3 separate regions of the Homo sapiens genome follow, and all the other regions are linked to region 3. The links are contacts of gene promoters, found by promoter capture Hi-C in blood cells and fetal thymus (Javierre and others, 2016). All regions are on one chromosome and are shown on one strand. The core of a region is centred on a gene start or on the middle of the fragment in contact, and the rest is flanking DNA. Distances in the headings are between cores, read along the strand shown.

Evidence for each region. Contacts are between HindIII fragments. The CHiCAGO score rates a contact against its expected background, and 5 or more counts as called.
Region 1: a contact is called between a fragment that was not itself captured here and the fragment with the promoter of DECR1 in region 3, in 13 of 17 cell types (naive CD4 T cells, total CD8 T cells, non-activated CD4 T cells and 10 more). The highest score is 12.4, in naive CD4 T cells.
Region 2: a contact is called between a fragment that was not itself captured here and the fragment with the promoter of DECR1 in region 3, in 7 of 17 cell types (total CD4 T cells, total B cells, naive B cells and 4 more). The highest score is 10.4, in total CD4 T cells.

The regions. Positions count from the first base shown.
Region 1 is chr8:90,549,048-90,553,079 of GRCh38, forward strand. The region is part of intron 2 of LOC124901975 (a long non-coding RNA gene); the gene reads right to left. Among named protein-coding and RNA genes, the nearest start is that of LINC01030, 55 kb to the right of the region's middle. The HindIII fragment of the contact is 3,484 bases long and covers 952-4,032 here.
Region 2 is chr8:90,602,033-90,605,535 of GRCh38, forward strand. All of the region lies in intron 1 of LINC01030 (long intergenic non-protein coding RNA 1030), which reads right to left. Among named protein-coding and RNA genes, the nearest start is that of LINC01030, 2.3 kb to the right of the region's middle. The HindIII fragment of the contact is 3,898 bases long and covers 99-3,503 here.
Region 3 is chr8:89,998,746-90,002,747 of GRCh38, forward strand. It overlaps DECR1 (2,4-dienoyl-CoA reductase 1), which reads left to right and starts at 2,732. Exons shown (of 10, transcript NM_001359.2): 1 at 2,732-2,816. The coding sequence starts at 2,748. RefSeq lists enhancers at 2,076-2,370, 3,219-3,358 and a silencer at 2,649-2,748. The HindIII fragment of the contact is 6,361 bases long and covers 1-4,002 here.

The sequences.
Region 1 (4,032 bases), core at 1,444-3,943, 550 kb after region 3:
CCCACTGCCCTACACAAAATTTATATGCTTAAGTTTCTCCAGCACTTCAGAATGTGGCCATATTTACAGACATGATCTTTACAGATGTAGTTAGGTTAAAATTAAGTCATTAGAGTGAGCCCTAATCCAGTATGACTGGTACCTTTATAAAAAGAGGAAATTTGGACAGTCACCTAACAGAAGGATGATGATGTGAACATAACAGGGAGAAGACAGCCATCTATAAGCCAAGGAAAGAAGCCTGGAATAGACAGACCATTCCTTTATGGCTTAACATCTTGATCTCAGACTTCAAGTCTTCAGAAATGTGAAAAAATACATTTCCGATTTTTAAGCCACCCAGTGTCTGATACCATGTTATTGCAGCCCTAGCAAACTAACACAGCATTCTTCTGTCAACCCAAGGCAGGAACACCTAGGCCTAGCTGACTCCATCCCTCCTGTTCACAGCTGATTGCACCAGAGGAGTACACCTAATCCAAGAGAGCAAAACCACTGACTGTCCAGCAGCCAATAAGAGTTTCTCAAAAATCTGAACCAAAAGGCAAAGCTGAAAAGGAGGACGTTGTCTTTAAGGGCAGAGCACTGTAGTGGGTCTTGCTTCTATGTGGGCCGTTTGTTGGGCTCGGTGGTTGTTCCCCTCTTTTTTGTTTGTTTGTTTGTTTGGGATTCTACATAGTCTGTGGCCTTAACATAAGCTGGAGTAAAAAATTTCGAAGAATTCTTACCTCAGAAAATAGAAGTAAGTCAAGAAGGGACCAGATGCAAGCCAAGAGAAAGGTGAAAGGGGGAAGAGAGGAGAAAAATGAGAAAGGGAGAATAAACATGTCACTGCCTTGATTGTGAAGCCAAAATTCATCCACTCATTCATTCTACAGAGGCCCTGTGCTAGGCCCTGGGCCAGATGCTGGTAACCCAGTAATAACTAAGACTTAGTTTCCATATCCAAGAAGCTTAAGGTCTAGAAATATTCGGCTTATTGGTTATTTTGAACTTGCCTTACCTCTATCGCCTTTGATTACAATAGATCAGTTAACAATAATTTCTCCCTCATTATGTCCAGCTGTGTTTTTAAATAAATGACTCATTCTTGCCTGTATGTCTGCATATATATATATACATATATATATGTAATTTTTTCTGCTATTCTTATTATTTATTATAAACTCTATGACGGAAGCAGTGTCCACATAGTTATGAGAGAAAATAAGTCAGAAAAATTAACTTTCCTTCTATTTCTTATGTTTAACGATGGCTCTAGAAAAATAAATCCTGGAACCAAGAAAGCATATTATTTTAATATCCCTCTCTCCTTTTATACCTCTTTCTTATCTCTTACTTCCTCTCTCTCCAGGTTCTAAGCCTGTCTGAGAATCACTTCCAGGCTTGATCCCTGATCCATGACGTATACCATGCTCCAAATTTTTTATTCCTCCTTCCATCTTCTCCACTTTAGCAGTAAAAACCTCCAATAAATTCAGTGCAAGTGAATTAGCTGGTGTCAGGAAAAGTGTAATCAGATGGAACTCAAATGTATGAATGTTTTTGACTAATAATACTTTTACCCTCCCTATAGGTTTTCTGGTCTTTCAAAGAAGATACTTATTAATGTAAATTACTGTCCAACCTTTAGAATTACAGGCAGTGTAGAAAAATGAGATTTTAAAATTCTAAAGATATGTGTACAATGGACCACCAAAAGAGCAGGAAAATTCCCTATCGGATTCTATCCCTAGTGTCCACATCCCTAACTGCCTCTTCATTCAGTTTGTCTTCTTCCATTCCTTAGTCAGAGACTCTTTGCAAGATTCTTTGCAAAATCCAGGGTTTTGTGGGATTTATTTTTCTTAAAGGAGGTGAGGTGAAGTTACAAGAGAAATGTGGAACAGGAGTAGCTGTCTTCTATATAGGTCAACTAACTTAATCATCCTTTTATTCCTTTTTATTTAAGAAGTATGTATTAAGAGCCTACCTTGTTGTCTTTTCCATACTTGGGATACAAGTAACCAGTATGGAAATTGGTTACTTGGGATACAGTATCACAAAGCCTCTGCCTTTGTAATACTCACTTTTGGGAGCATGCAGGGTTCATAAAGCTACATGATCTGGCCAAGGTTTATCACTGCAGGAGTATGAAGTGCACATCAGGGAAGAGTGGCTCATGGCAGATGAGATAATAAAAACAGTGTTCAAAGCTAAGACATGCATGGTGCTTGCTATGTGCCAGGTGACAGTATGTCCTTTACATACAACTCACATATAATTATTTTGTTCTCAAAAGACTCTAGGAATTAGATACTATTGTTACCATCATCATTCTTGTTTTACAAATGAGGAAACTGAAACACAAAATAATGAGAGCCATAGAGCTGGTTATTGATGAAGTTGGGATGTAGACACAGGCATCTGGCTGCCGAATCTATATGCTTCTCCACCACCCTACTGCTGGCATGAGATTGTTTTATGTAAGTTGAATTTTAAAATCAGAAACTTTAAATACAATGCCATTAGACTGAAACTAATCTTGTGAAATCCTCTAGGATTCTAAGTGGGAAATGTAGACATGCTATATTTTTGTGAAATTATTGCAGTGATATTTATAATCAAAACTGGAAACTAAAAACCATCCCTTTCTGAACTGTTAGAAAAGCAGATTAATATGTAAAGTGGTAAAGAAAAGCAATTTTTAAAAATTTGTCCAGTTCTGTCACTAACCTACTGCATGTCTAAGGGTTAGATCACATCAACTCTCCAGACTTGAAATTCCTCATATGGTGGGTGATCACATAATTAATTGTCCAAATGGGGACACTTAGCAATGAAGGGGGGCCCTATTAATAATTACACTGGGACGATATTGCCAGGCAAACCACAGTAGATTGTTGTTCAACTTATGTATCGAAATGAGGCTACAAGAGCTGATCCCTAAATTCACTTCTAGTTGTAGTGGGTGTGTTTGTGTTTGTTTGACCGACTGTTTGTCCAAAGTATTAGGATCATTTAGTAAGAGGCAGAAGGAAAACTCAGAGGTCTGACTTAACCCCGTAATGGTTAACAAGGTCTGTGCTAGATTAGGACATTTTTATTCTAGTAAATAAAGTAATAACTACAGCAATTTATAAACTGACCACATTTATATTAAATTGAAATTGTGCAAGAGAAAACAAATGCAAGTTAATTCCAAGTAGGCTTAATGCCCAGACAATCAGTACTGCAAAAATAAAACAAAACAAAACCAATGCCCAAGAAAGGCTGCCAATTAGAAAGAAAGAATTAATTTAATTCAAAACATTTTTTAATTTTGAGTCCTCAAGACTAAACAGCTAACTTGGGTACCTCCAACCAGTATGACACTGAGAACAATGTGACCTGATTTAAAGGAATTTTGAGTTTGTACAAAGAGCATTGGCAAGAGATCTTAGAGTCTTCATTCATGTATTCATTTAACGGATTGGCAAGAGCTTGTTATGTGCCAAACATTGCTATGGGCTGATGATACAACTAAGTAAAAACATAACCCTTGCCTGGAGGAAATATCAGTCTGATCTTGACACTGCCATATAAGTGCAGTGAGGCTTTGGATATGTCATTTAACTTTTCTGAGTCTCGGTTTCCTTAAAGTAAAATGAGGGAACTAAAAATGCATGATCACTAAAAATCGTCATTTGGCTAGTTAAATTTTATGAACTCAGAAGTTCTGTCTGGATAAATGTTAGCCTTTATCTGGTTTCATTATATTAGATAATAATGTTAGGAAAGTTTTGAAAATACAATAGGCATGCTTCTGTTTGTTTCCATAGTCATTCTGTTGAAAAAAAGAGATGTTTTCCTTTCCCCCATAATTTTCCCTTTGTTCACTCTCTTCAGGCCACATTTTCCATGTGGTTGTTTATCAGTATGTGCTATGGTCTGAATGTGTCCCCCAGAAAGCAGGTGTTGGAATTTAATCCCCAATGCAACAGTGTTGGGAGAGAAGCCTAATGGGAGGTTTGGATCATGAGGGCTTGGCTCTCAAGAATGGATTAACGCTGA
Region 2 (3,503 bases), core at 798-3,297, 600 kb after region 3:
TCTAGACTTTCTCTTCGGTTCCATTAGTCTATTTCTTCTGATTTCCATGACTTTACATATTAAATTTTGGTACAGGAAGTCCTTCTTTATAATTTTAAAGCTTTCCTGGCCATTTTCACAAAATTTTATTGCAGATGATCCTTGCATCATTTTGTTAATTAAAAAACAAGAACAATGCTTTGGAATATTTATTGTAAGGAAACTACATTGATAGGATAAGTTGAAAGAAATCAATACGTGATGTGACTCAACTGGCCTCTCTCATCTCACAATAAAGGCACAGTCCTGGCTACTCATTCCCAACTAAAAGTTAGACATTTAAATACAAAACAAATATATAATAAGCCCTGTAAGAAAAGCAATAGGGCATCTTTTTTCTTTTTTATTCTAAAGGGGTGATATGAAATACAGTAAATCATAATAAGAAAGGTAGTTCTAATTTGATTACAAAATTTAAAAATGCTTTATCAAGGGTTGATATGTGCAGCAAACCACCATGGCACATGTATACCTATGTAACAAACCTGCATGTTCTGCATATGTATTCCAGAACTTAAAGTAAAATAAAAAAAAAATGCTTTATCAATCCAGAGGTTAAAAGACCTCGAATTAAATCAGCTCATTTGTCAGAAGTATGAAGCCAAGAAATTCAATGTACTCAAGTGTTACCAAATGGTAACAGCTGCACCTAAACAAGCTAATTCTTAACTTATTAGTCAAGAGTAACTGACACTCAAAAAAGACTAATTGTAATTGTTTTGTTGTTGTTTGTTTCGAGACGGAGTCTTGCTCTGTCACCGAGGCTGGAGTACAGTGGCGCGATCTCGGCTCACTGCAACCTCTGCCTCCCGGGTTCAAGCAATTCTCCAGCCTCAGCCTCCCAAGTAGTTGGGACCACAGATGCGCGCCACTGCATCCAGATAATTTTTGTATTTTTAGTAGAGACCGGGTCTCACCATGTTGGCCAGGCCGGTCTCAAACTCCTGACAGGTGATCCACCCGCCTTGGCTCCCAAAGTGCTGGGATTACAGGCGTAAGCCACCGTGCCTGGCCACGTAATTGTAAATTATTTGGTCTCTTACACCTTAGTGAAAATATTTGAGCCTCTTTTGTCACTGGATGTTCCTCCATACAGTGTGTCCTGCAGAAATGGTCATTAATTCTGTCACTTAAAGAAAGCAAAGCAGTGAGGAAAGAAATTCACGTTTCTCAAGTGTCTATAATGGATAGCTTAGGTCGTCTGCGTATGTTATCATCACTTCATAACTTTTGGTGGTGGGGGGGAATGTAGCACAAAAATTGTGATCCGAAGCCAAATCAAGTTTCACTTCTCTGACATCAGAGTTAACTCATTGAGCACTGTAATTCAGAACCTTAGGTTAAAAGACTAGTGAAAGTAGTTCCTATATACACTTCAATCTTTCCATAGTATTACAATTGTTTCTTTTGATCTGTTTGAATAAATCCTTTGTTTCTAATTGTGTCTATCAAATTAATAAGTACAAAAGGTTTGTAAGCTAAATTCGAAGAATTCCATTGATAACATCTGCTCCTAAGTGTTTAGCACACATTTTAACCCTGAAAGCATATTATGAATACATGCATCTCCAGAACTTTATCATTTCTTAAACTTGAAACTAATGCTAGAGCAAAAATTATGTCTGACCTAATGTCCTATATATACAGCCAGGAGATATGATAAGGCTTGCAACTATTCCTTAGGAATAATTTTCCTTTCTTTTCAATTACTTCTTATACATGTCTCTGTATTTTTCAAGATTTTGCTTTTTTTGCTGAGTAGAAAGTGTATCTACTTTGACATGTAACAAACTTTTCTGTGTATCACTAACTAAATACCCTAAAATTCATTTTTATTTCAATGGCAAAGATTTAAAACTAAGGAATTGTGGCACACGCGCACACACACACACCCCATATATATATACCATGAGTCTCAAACTATTTGTTATTATTAGATATGCAATTTTCCAAAACTTAATATTTTTGTTGTTGTTGTTGTTTGAGACGGAGTCTCGCTCTATCACCCAGGCTGGAGTGCAGTGGCGCGATCTTGGTTCACTGCAACCTCCGCCTCCTGGGTTCAAGTGATTCTCCTGCCTCAGCCTCCCGAGTAGCTGGGACTACAGGCGCGTGACACCACACCCGACTTATTTTTTGTATTTATAGTAGAGATGGAGTTTCACCGTGTTAGCCAGAATAATCTTGATCTCCTGACCTCGAGATCTGCCCGCCTCGGCCTCCCAAAGTGCTGGCATTACAGGCGTGAGCCACTGTGCCCAGCCCAGCTTAATACTTTTAAAGAATTCAGCTTTAATCAAATTGTATGTAGTTTAAGTAGTTGTGGAGTAAAACTTTCAATAAATTAGGAAGTTCTAAAGGTGCTCTGGAGCCTCCCGTATCACCAAGGCAACACAGGCTGGATGCTGTTCTGTCACTGCTTCTGCTGGCCTCCTGTTGCCATTGAGTTGACTAGCATGGAAAGCACAGAATGGGACAAGGAAATACTGAAATGCTTTGCCACTAACTTTCTCTCACCCTAGGAAATACCCTTTTTTCAACATGAAAAATCTGAACTAGATAATCTTCATTACTTTCAGGTTTAAAACATGTTTTTCTAAAATTAAACTAATTTTAAAATAAATTTCACTGGAATAAAAATGCTGACGGTAGAGAACACAGAATGAGTTTTCTCTAAGCCCTGCAGTTCTCCAAGGAGGGTATCAGATGTGTTTCATCACATGAATCTTTTGATTTTTTTTTTAGGAAATTAAAGAAAAAATGTTAAAGCATCCTAAGATTGATTAGAGTTGGAATTATATTTAACCCCGGGGACAAATCAGTTACCTGTTCTAGAGAGCCATGATTCTGCTAAAAAGGTGGTTGAAAACTAAAACAAATTTAGACTGAAATGGACCTTAGGTAAAGGATCTCAGCCTCCACACTGTATACATGTGGAATTTTTTTTTTTTTTTTTTTTTTTTTTTTTTTTTTTTTTTTTGAGATGGAGTCTCGCTCTGTCGCCCAGGCTGGAGTGCAGTGGCACAGTCTCGGCTTACTGCAAGCTCCGTCTCCCGGGTTCACGCCATTCTCCTGCCTCAGCCTTCCAAGTAGCTGGGACTACAGGCACCCGCCACCACGCCCAGCTAATTTTTTGTATTTTTAGTAGAGATGGAGTTTCACCATGTTAGCCAGGATGGTCTCGGTTTCCTGATCTCGTGATCCACCCACCTCGGCCTCCCAAAATGCTGGGATTACAGGCGTGAGCCACCGCCCCCGGCCCATGTGGAAATCATTTACTTGCACAAAATTATGTAGCTAACTGGCAAGAGTGAGAATTAAAATGCATTATGTTTCTTAACTCCCAGACCAATGCTGCATTTACTTGTATAATACCAGTATCTTGTGATATAGGCTAAAGGTATCTCTAATCAATGAGTTACAACACACTAATATAAATTATAGAAGGTTTATCTCTCTCAGTA
Region 3 (4,002 bases), core at 1,482-3,981:
TCCTCTACTCCCTCTTTTCACATGTTTACTTTATCTTATGTAAAATGTAGATTTACTGAGGCTAATCAGAGCCTCAAAAGAATGGAACCATCTGCCTCACTGTCTACCCTCTCTTCCTTTTTTTTTTTTTCTCTCCTGCTTGCTCTTTCTTTTTTAAATAAAGAATTTCCCAAAACCCCCTTTGGAAAAAGCATAGGTTACAGATGCTCTTGTGAGTTGCATTTTTTTCCCAGACATGTTCTCAACCTTGGCTAAATGATCGCTAACCCACAGAGATCTGCCTCAGTCACTTTTTGGTTTGCAGTCCCAAGTCAGTTGATTTTAGTTAATCAAAAAGGGGTTAAGACTATTTTCAGTGGGCCTCACTTAATCTGGTGATTGTCCTTAAAAGATGGGCTGGGGCCTCCCTGAGGTACAGAATTGTCCTTGCTGGCTTGATGTAGTAAGCAGTCTGCTGAGGAAGCCCACATGGGAAGGGATGGAGGTGACTTCTAGAAGCTGAAGGCAACTCCAGCCAACATCCAGCAAAAATGTGGGGCTGTCAGTTATATGGTTATGAGGAAAATAATTCTGCAAACAATCTGGATGAGCTTGGGATCAGATCTTCTCCAGCTGAGCCTCCAGATAAAAACAGCCTAGTTGACACCTTGATTGCAGTCTTCTGAGACCCAGAGCCAAGGATCCAGCTAAGCTGTGCCTAGACTCCTAACTCCTGGGAACTGTGAGATAATAAATGATTAATTGTTTTAAGTTACTTATTGTGTTACTCCATTCTCACAATGCTATAAAGAAATACCTCATACTGAGTAATTTATAAAGAAACGAAGTTTAATTGACTCACAGTTCTGCAGGCTATATAGGAAGCATGACTTGAGAGGCCTCAGGAAACTTACAATCATGGTGGAAGATGAAGGGGAAGCAGGCTGTCTTACACAGCTGGAGCAGGAGGAAGAGAGAGGGTGGGAGGTGCCACACACTTTTAAACAACCAGATCTCCTGAGAACTCTATCAGGAGAATAGCACCAAAGGAAGAAATCTGTCCCCGTGATCCAATCACCTCCTACCAGGCCCCAATTCCAACACTGGAGATTACAATTCAACATGAGATTTGGGTAGGGACACAAATCCAAACCGTATCACTAATGTTGCAACTTCTTTTTAGAAACAAGATGAATCCCACTTACAATTTGGTTTGGAAGTCAAGAATAACAGTGCCATACATATATCAAGAGCTTAGGAAAAGTTTTATTATTGATATATTCTCAAGGTTTTTTTGGGAGGACAGAAAATGCCTCCTAAGCTGGTCTAAAAGTTATTTAAGAGGGCAAGTGTTCTGGGCTGAATTGTGTACTTCCCTCTTCTCCCAGCCAAATATATACATTGAACTCTTAACCCCCAGTATGTCAGAATGTGGCTATATTTGGAGATAGAGTCTTTAGGGAGGTAATTCCAGTTAAATTAGGTCATTGAGGGTGGGCCTTAATCCAACACGACTGGTGTCCTCATAAGAAGAGGCAATTTAGATATGGAAAGGTACACAGGAGGATCATGTAAAGACACAGGGAGAAGATGGTCCCACAGTGGCTCCACAAGAAACCAACTCTGCTGACTTGTGGCCTCCAGAATTGTGAGAAAACAAATTTCCATTTAAGCCACCCAATCTGTGGTAGTTTTGTTCCTGGACCAAACTGAGGGTCAGGCTGCTATTTCTTGCTGCCAATAATGAGATGTCGATGAACTGGGGATGAAGAAAGTTTTTATTTCTGTAACCAGTTACAGGCAGAAGGCCTGGAAATTATCACCAGACCAACTCAAAATTACAAAGTTTTTCAGAGTTTATATACCTTATAAGCTATATGTCTACATGTAAGTGTACATTCCTCTGAAGATATAAATGTTTCTTTATCAGCATTTGGAACATGCCAGGCAAATAGTAAACACTCAATATCATCTACCATCAGCCTCAGCCTGGGGCCTCACACCCATCTTCTTTTATCTAAAATTCTGAATTAGCTATGAATATTCTCATTTTACGAATGAGGAAAGAAATGTGATCTGAGCTAATGCCTTGTGTCAACAGGTATATTACACTAAGATGGAGAATGATATACTGAATCTGTGTTTGCCTTTAACGTGTGTTTAACTTCGAGAAAAAAGCCAAGGCTGGGCGGTCGCAGTCACGCTGCATCCGGCGACAGGGGGCGGTGTGTCCTGCGAAAAGTCAAAACGCCGGAAGCTGCCCTTAGTGTTTTTCAGCCTCTTGGTCTTAGGGAAAGTGAGGCCGTGTTTTACATCCAACATATTATTATTCTGATAATATGTGACTTGGCGCCACGCGCACTCTGCACTTAAACACGCACTTAAGGGATAAACACATACGACTGAAAAAGAGTTTCGCCCTTGATAGGCAGTGTATGGGGTGCGCAGCTGCAATCTGCAAACCCTTGCAGGGCGCGGGGTTTCGTACACCCGCTCAAGGACGCAAAGAACCTCCATTCTCTGCCATACAAAGCACTCCTGGCCCAGAGAGCAGGAAAGAGCATCAGCTAGGCCCAGCTAGGCGGCGCCCTCGGCCGGACTCTGAAGGTCAGGGCCGCTGGGCGTCCACGCCGCCTGGGTCCCAGTCCCCGTCCCATCCCCCGGCGGCCTAGGCAGCGTTTCCAGCCCCGAGAACTTTGTTCTTTTTGTCCCGCCCCCTGCGCCCAACCGCCTGCGCCGCCTTCCGGCCCGAGTTCTGGAGACTCAACATGAAGCTACCGGCCAGGGTTTTCTTTACTCTGGGGTCCCGGCTGCCCTGTGGCCTCGCTCCTCGGAGGGTAAGGCGGCCGGGGGCGCGGGGAGCGAGGACAGGGCGTCTCGACGCGCAAAGAGAGAGGACAGGGCGTCACGGGGGCTCGGGGAGCGAGGACAAGGCATCCTGGGGCGCAAAGAGAGAGGACAGGGCGTCCCGGGGGTTCGGGGAGCGAGGACAGGGCATCCCGAGGCGCAGAGAGAGAGAGGACAGGGCGTCCCGGGGCCTCGGGGAGCGAGGACAGGGTGTCCCGGGGCTCAAAGAGAGAGGACAGGGCGTTCTGGAGCGCTAAGAGAGCACAGAGCAACCCGGGGAGCGAGAGAGAGGACAGGACGTCTCGGGGCGCAAGAGAAAGGGCAGGAAGTCTTGGGGCACAAAGAGAGGACCCGGCGTCCCTGGGGCTCAGGGAGCTAGGACAGGGCGTTTTGGGGCGCAGAGAGAGAGGACCACCAGGTCCCGGAGCGAAGGGCAACGCCGGGAGTGAGCACCGGGGCCCGGGTCGTATTCCACTGTCAGATGAAGCCCTGATGTGTGTAGGGGAATAGGGAAGAGACGTGATTTTCGAAGTTTTCACAGTTCTGCAAGTTTCCAACTTGTGTGTAAATAGGTAGAAAGAGGTAGGGAAGGATACGGCGCCCGTCCACCCCTTAAGGAGTGAGAGGGGATCAGGCCGAGCGAGCACTGACCTTTGACGTCCTTTGTTGTGAGGAAAGTCCATCTATGTGTTAGTTATGGAATTAAACACTAATACAAACAAATTATCATAAAAATGAAACAAAAACAAAACCCCAGCTGTTTATAGACTCCCCTTCCCAGATGTATAGCTGGGAGAGGTCCGTCTCACACTGGCTTCCCCCTCTCTCTGGCCCACACTCCTGTCACCATCTCCATTGCACCCATAGTGGAAATAGCTAGGAAGTGAAAACAGCTAGGAAGAAGAAAGAGAAACAAAAACAAAAAGAAGCAATAATATCCAAGACAAGCCCTCCCCACATCTAAATTACAAAATTGTTATAAGTAAACTAAAAAGCACATTTTCTTTAGCCAGGTAGAAAAATTAATATGTCAACTGTGAAAAAACTTCTTTTGATTTGATAGAATAGACAGCCATGGTGTTGTTTTTCAAAAAATATGGGCAGCAGTAGTTCCAAATAGGAATACAAAGAATTAGTATGGTGGTTCCCTCAAGTAAGGTATCTTTCTTTTAAAAA